Regions from separate parts of the Homo sapiens genome. Here region 1 is linked to region 2. The links are contacts of gene promoters, found by promoter capture Hi-C in human tissues and cell types (Jung and others, 2019). All regions are on one chromosome and are shown on one strand. Each heading gives the region's core, a stretch centred on a gene start or on the middle of the fragment in contact. The rest is flanking DNA. Distances are from core to core; before and after follow the strand shown. Region 1 overlaps KCNS1 (potassium voltage-gated channel modifier subfamily S member 1). Region 2 holds the start of UBE2C (ubiquitin conjugating enzyme E2 C).

The links. Contacts are between HindIII fragments. The study calls those that stand out against the background at their distance.
Region 1: a fragment that was not itself captured here is called in contact with the fragment with the promoter of UBE2C in region 2 in 3 of the 25 tissues and cell types used here (dorsolateral prefrontal cortex, liver and thymus).

Annotation. Positions count from the first base shown.
Region 1 is chr20:45,092,041-45,095,128 of GRCh38, forward strand. KCNS1 (potassium voltage-gated channel modifier subfamily S member 1) reads right to left here. Exons shown (of 4, transcript NM_001322799.2): 4 at 1-3,088. The coding sequence ends at 2,830. Among named protein-coding and RNA genes, the nearest start is that of KCNS1, 7.5 kb to the right of the region's middle. The HindIII fragment of the contact is 5,760 bases long and covers 1-3,088 here.
Region 2 is chr20:45,811,296-45,814,349 of GRCh38, forward strand. UBE2C (ubiquitin conjugating enzyme E2 C) reads left to right here and starts at 1,349. Exons shown (of 6, transcript NM_007019.4): 1 at 1,349-1,501; 2 at 2,142-2,169. The coding sequence starts at 1,401. It overlaps DNTTIP1 (deoxynucleotidyltransferase terminal interacting protein 1), which reads left to right. Exons shown (of 13, transcript NM_052951.3): 13 at 1-123. RefSeq lists a silencer at 1,152-1,341. The HindIII fragment of the contact is 8,392 bases long and covers 1-3,054 here.

The DNA of each region.
Region 1 (3,088 bases), core at 430-2,929, 720 kb before region 2:
GTTTGTTGCTTATACCCTCAAACTCTAATTGTTAACAGTCATTCATCACTTTAATTATTTTATAAATTACCCTTTTTGACCAAGTTTGTTCCAACTGAATTCCTGTCACTTGCAACCTGTTCTGGCTGGCACAACCACAAAGTTTGTGCCAAATCCAGGACTGGAGCCTGAGAATGTGGATTCCAAGTCATTCCACATATTGCCCACCCTCTCCAATCACTCAGACAGCATGTCAGGGAGCCATCTCCATACAAGCAGAAACACGTCCTGGGGCCCAGCTCTTTATTTGCATAATGGTTTTCACTGATACATGGGAAGGGGAGCGAGTTGTTGCTTTTCTGCCAGGACCACAAACAGCCTCATGGTAGGCTCAGGCCAGATGATTCCCTCTTGAGCTTTCTCCACATCAGTATTAGGGACCTGTTTGTAGGGTCAGAAAATATGGAAGCCGTCGGGTTTCTTGGTGTGTTCTGCAAGACCATAAGGGTGCTACACGCAGCCCTTCTGATCTGCCCCTAACCTGGGTTCAGCTGGGCCTAGATGTAAGGAGCAGAGTGTGCAGAAGGGCTGGTATGTGTGTGGTGAATTCAAGGGAGGCCCTTTGCTGCTTAGCTCCATCCTCTGTTCCAATCTGGAGACCCAGAATCCATGCGTATGTAGGGGGCCCACTATGTACTAGGCCCTGTGTATGACACACACCTTCACACATGCCATTCTCTCTGCTTGGAGTACTCCCCCCTGGAACCTCATTTGCTTAATTAGCAATTTATCATTTGGATGGCAGGTTAGATTGTCACTTGCTCAGGAAAGCCTTCTCACTTTCTCGGGCCATGGTCCCTGATACATTATACACACCTGTACTTAGTAGAGCTCGCTATATTTATGTGATTATTGCATTAGAGTCTATCTTCCCTACTAGTCGGTAAGCTTCATGAGTATAGGGATATATTTTTCCACCACTGTATCTCTTGAGACTAGTAAGCAGCCCATAAGTCAGAAGCCAGTATATCAGAGTGGCTGGGCATAACACAACGGCATGTGTGTCTGTTTGTGGGTGGCAGCGGGGGAGACACTATGGGGAACCTGAGAGTGCATGCCTCACGCAAAGGCATTCAGATTCTTAAAATATAATAAAAACACTGTTGGACTAAGCCGAAACATGACTGCAGGCCACACATGAAGCCCCAGTTTAAGACTCTTCCAACGGGTATTTGTTGAGTGAGTGAGTGAAGAACCTACAAGGAATATATTGTAAAAACTTCAAGAACCAAGCAGGGACAGGGCAGGCGGAGCTGAACGGACCTCCTTTTCAGTCTTGTTCACACCTTTTTGAGGGCCAGGTCTCTCTCTGGCTATCTTTTTTTCCCCCTCTGAGCTTGGCACCCAGTGGGCTGTAGGAATTGGTTGATCTATTCAACATTTACCAAATACCTACTCTGCACCAAGCCCAGAGTTCAAGCAGACAATGTCTTCCATCTTGAGGCTCAGGGTGATGGGACAGAGATAGCCACAGTCAGACAACAACAGCACAGTGCTGGGTGCTGTAGCCACAGTATGTGGAAAGGGCTACTGGATCCCCTCCTCTGACTTTCTCAGCAAGTGAAGAGAAGATTCAGCAGGTGGGTATGAGAGATATGCCCCCAGCAAGGGTGAGGGGGCTGGAGCTGGCCAGAAGGGAGAGGACTCTCACACATGGGCCTGGATGGGTACTCTAGGTAGGGCTGGACAATGTAGGGCTGGACGTCTGTGTGATGGGCAGAAAGGAACTGCCAAGGTCAGACTGTTGGGGGAGGGTCTTAGAAGCCAGTATTCATATATGTCAGCCCTCTGAACATTTCAGAGCTGAGCTGGCTTTAAGTTAGAGACCCCTCTGCTCTCCTTGGCTTTCATTGCCCTCTGGGTCACAGATTCTGACCATTTGACAGAGGGGCTGGAATCTGGACTTGGGGGCAGGGATTGGACCACTTTACACAGCAGGTCTTGGCGCAGCTAGGTTGTCTAGATCTCAGGCCAGGGGCCCTTCAGATTTTCTTTCTCTCACATCAGCCCTGGGAGGAAGGTCGGAAGATTATTGCTTAGCAAATCTTGCATACCAGCTAAAGAGGCAAGTACAATGCTATGGTACTTCCTCCCAGGACTCATCCTCCTTCCCTCCAGGACTCATCTTTGATTGCTGACTCCTGTTGGATGCTCCTAGAAAGGAACCACAGCTGAGATCCAGAGCTCCTATATCCAAATCTCCTGTCTGGACCCTTCCCTGGCTCTGAAAGGGATTTCTTATCTTGTGGATCAACTCTGGGGATCCATGAATCACCAAAAAACACACGCAAACTTCATGAGGGCAGAAGAAAGATGGAGTTGATGGAGCATTGCTCCAGGCACACCAACAAGCCCAGATTCCAAACCTGACTCTGCCACTTCTAATTGTGACATCTGGGAGAGGCATCGCTCATCTCTTAGCCTTGGTTTCCTCATCTGTGAAGTGGGGATAATTCTCTTTCTCCAACACAAGGCCAAACATGACCTGGTTCATGTACAGGAGGTGCTCAGGAATCATTAGTATCCTTTCAACTTCCTCCCTCTGGCTCATGCCTGCTTCATGAATGGCTTGGAGGCAGGTTTATAAAGCTTTCTGAGTTGCTTGCAGAATCTCACAGAATCTAGGGTAGCACTGTCCTGTCCTGGGCCTTTGGAGGAAGGAATGCAGCTTTTGAATCTCATTTCTCAGGACAGCATGAGTGATCCTGGGAGGCTCACTACCATGAAGAACTTTAGCAGGGGAGGAATCTCTACTGTAGGGGCATGGCAGGGGGTCACGGATCCCTGGTTTTAATACATCTGAGGGTGTGGAGGCTCACTGGGGGCCTGGCTCTCTAGATCTGCAGACTGTCCCTCCTGAGAGGTTTCTCGGGATGTCTCCAGAGATGCCTCCGACACCCCATCAATGCTGCTCAGCAAGTCCTCAAACTCTTGGTGGTTGCTGTTGCGCACGGCTGCCTCCAGAGCCTTCTGGCGCCGGTAGAAGTGGGAGAACTTGTTGAAGATGATGGTGATGGGGAGTGCTACCACCAGGATGCCCCCTAGGATG
Region 2 (3,054 bases), core at 99-2,598:
CATTAAGCTGTGCCTGAGCGAGTTTGTAGTGACTCACTGCACAGCACCCCCAGACTAGCATGTGGTTCTATATTTGTAAAGTTATTGGGATAAGAAACAATTAAACAGTTTGTAGTAAACACAGATGGTGAACCTGCTGTGCCCTCTACCTTGTGGGAATTGACAGAACATCAAGGGCTCTAGAAGTGGGTGTAGGAAAAAAGGACGAGATAACCCTCACCCATAACAGTATAGAGCCAGGCTTGATAAGACCAACCTGGGAGCACCATGTACCCTGCCCGTCTTCCCTTTGCCCATTTGTAGTTTCCTTACCCAGCTAATGTAAGGACATGGCAGAATGCGATGGAGTTTGATGACAGATCATATGAAAAATAGAGTTGGCTTTTATTGCTCCCATTTTACAGGTTAAGATACTAAAGGACCCGCCCCAAGGTTACACACTACCCACTGGGGAGGTAGGATATACAGGATATGAACCTGTGTTGTTGGGGTTTTTGTTTGTTTGAAGACAGTCTTGCTCTGTTGCCCAGGCTAGAGTGCAGCCTCTGGCTCAAGCGATTCTCCCGCCTCAGCCTCGCCAGTAGCTGGGACTACAGGCTCGTGCCACCTCACCAGCCTTTTTTTTTTTTCTTTTCTTTTTTTTTTTTTTTCTTTTAAGTAGAGACAGGTCTCCCTATCCTGTTGCTCAGGCTGGTCTCGAACTCCTGGGTTCAAGTGATCCTCCTGCCTGGGCCTTCCAAAGTGTTCGGGATTACGGACGTGAGCCACTGCGACCAGCCTGAACCAATGTTGCCTTTTTTTATTTCTGTCATCTCTGCGGAGATGTATGGACCTATGTTTTCTAATAGGGAGCCTGCTGCTCTGGCCATCAGCCTTTAGTTTTTCCCCTCGCTGGGATTTTCAGATACTTAGGACGCAGCAAAGGTGCCCAGGCGATTATAATGGTGGGAGGGTACCAGTGCTGCAGGATTGGAGGCACTCCCTGCCCGAGGGAAATTGGATCAAGGCTGGGCGTGCCGAGTGTTCCCACGCGGAGTAAGACGTGTAGCCAGAAGGAGGGGTTCATCCCACGTGGACGTTTTCTTGGCCCTTTAATGGTTAGCGTTTTCCAACGGCCACCAATTCGCTACGGATTCGTTAGTTAATGGCAGCATCATCTACCAATCGGTTGTCAGAAGCGGGATTCTGCCGCCCAATAGCGGTGCGCCAGTGGGTAGGTCTAGCAGTGGCGCAGCAATAGAGCGCTCCGGAGCGTCTCATTGGCTGGATCAAACCCAAGCGAGCCATTGATTGGTCGACGCCCCCAGAGGGTTACAATTCAAACGCGGGCGGGCGGGCCCGCAGTCCTGCAGTTGCAGTCGTGTTCTCCGAGTTCCTGTCTCTCTGCCAACGCCGCCCGGATGGCTTCCCAAAACCGCGACCCAGCCGCCACTAGCGTCGCCGCCGCCCGTAAAGGAGCTGAGCCGAGCGGGGGCGCCGCCCGGGGTCCGGTGGGCAAAAGGTGAGTGATGCGGCCTACCACTCGCCGGGCCTGCCATGCCCTAGGCATTGGTACCCAGAGCAAAGATTTCTAGGACCACCCCCCGCCGCCACCTCCTGGAGCGGGAGATCTGCGGGTGCAGGAGAACACACCAGGAGCTCGGGGCCTGGCATTCCCCTGGGCATGGGTGTCGAGGGCGGAGACTTCCGGGACTCCCACCTCCTTGCGCGGGTGAGATTCGAGAGATGGGGGACAGGCCAGGAGCTCAGACCGCTCTTTGAGACTCTCCCGAAGGAGAATGGGAGGGTAGGGGCGCTGCCAGACTCCTTCCCTGGTGGGCCTAGATGAAGACGCTCAAGGACCCTCGTGACTTGGCCGAGACAGGGGAAGGGAGAAGTTGAGTCGGGCAAGGAAGAGATGCTAAAGCCTGGGGAATTAAGAACATGCCAGAATCATCCCGAGGGAGTCTGGAATTAGGGAGGGTGAGGACTCGCTAGGATCGTCCTGTGGATCTGGTGAGTATACCCTGAGCTGAGCCTGACCTTGGTGATGTGGGGAGCCTCCATGACGGCTCCCCCTGAGATTCAGGTGGGAGAAGATGCACCGTCTGGAGGCCTGGCCCATCCAGACTCCCAGGTAACCCCGAATACTCTTTTTTCAGGCTACAGCAGGAGCTGATGACCCTCATGGTGAGTGATTAAGTGCCCAGAACCCCAGCCTTCCATCCAATTTTCAGTAGCCTCCTTTTTTCCGTCAGCTTTTTTGCTAGACATAGGGGTAATGTAATTTGCTCCCTCCTGGGAAAGAAGTTCATACACCCCACCTACACCATTTCTTCCAGCAGTCCCTCCTCCCAATTCCATCCCCCCACACGAAGTTATCTCGAACACTTCCCTGAAGTCATACAAGACCCTCCCTATCCAGTGTGTCCCTACTTCCTAGCCCCAACCAAGCTTTACCCACACCCAACTCCCCGCCCTTCTTGGTATTTCTAGCCTATGAATTTGGTTGCTTTATTTTGGATCAGAGTGATGAGATTAAGGGGAGGCTGGGCGCGGTAGCTCACACCTTATAATCCCAACACTTTGGGGGGCTAAGGTGGGCGGATCACTTGAGGTCAGGAGTTCGAGACCAGCCTGGCCAACATTGCAAAACCCTGTCTCTACTAAAAATACAAAAATTATCCAGGCATGGTGGTGCATGCCTGTAATTTCAGCTACTCGGGAGGCTGAGGCACAAGAATCATTTGAACCGTGGAGACAGAGGTTGCGGTGAGCCGAGCGCACCACTGCACTCTAGCCTGGGCGACAGAGTGTGTGTGTGTGTCTGTCTCTGTCTATCTCTCTCTCTCAATCTCTCTCTCTCTCTCTCTATATATATATATATGTAAATATATATTTTTTAGTAGAGATGGCATAACCCCATCTATATCTCATATATATACACATATATATGTGTGTGTGTATACATATATATGTGTGTGTGTGTATGTGAGCATATATATATATATATATATATATATATAAAATTAAGGGGAAAGCTCACCCACTGACCTTTGCTATGCCCAAAAGTGT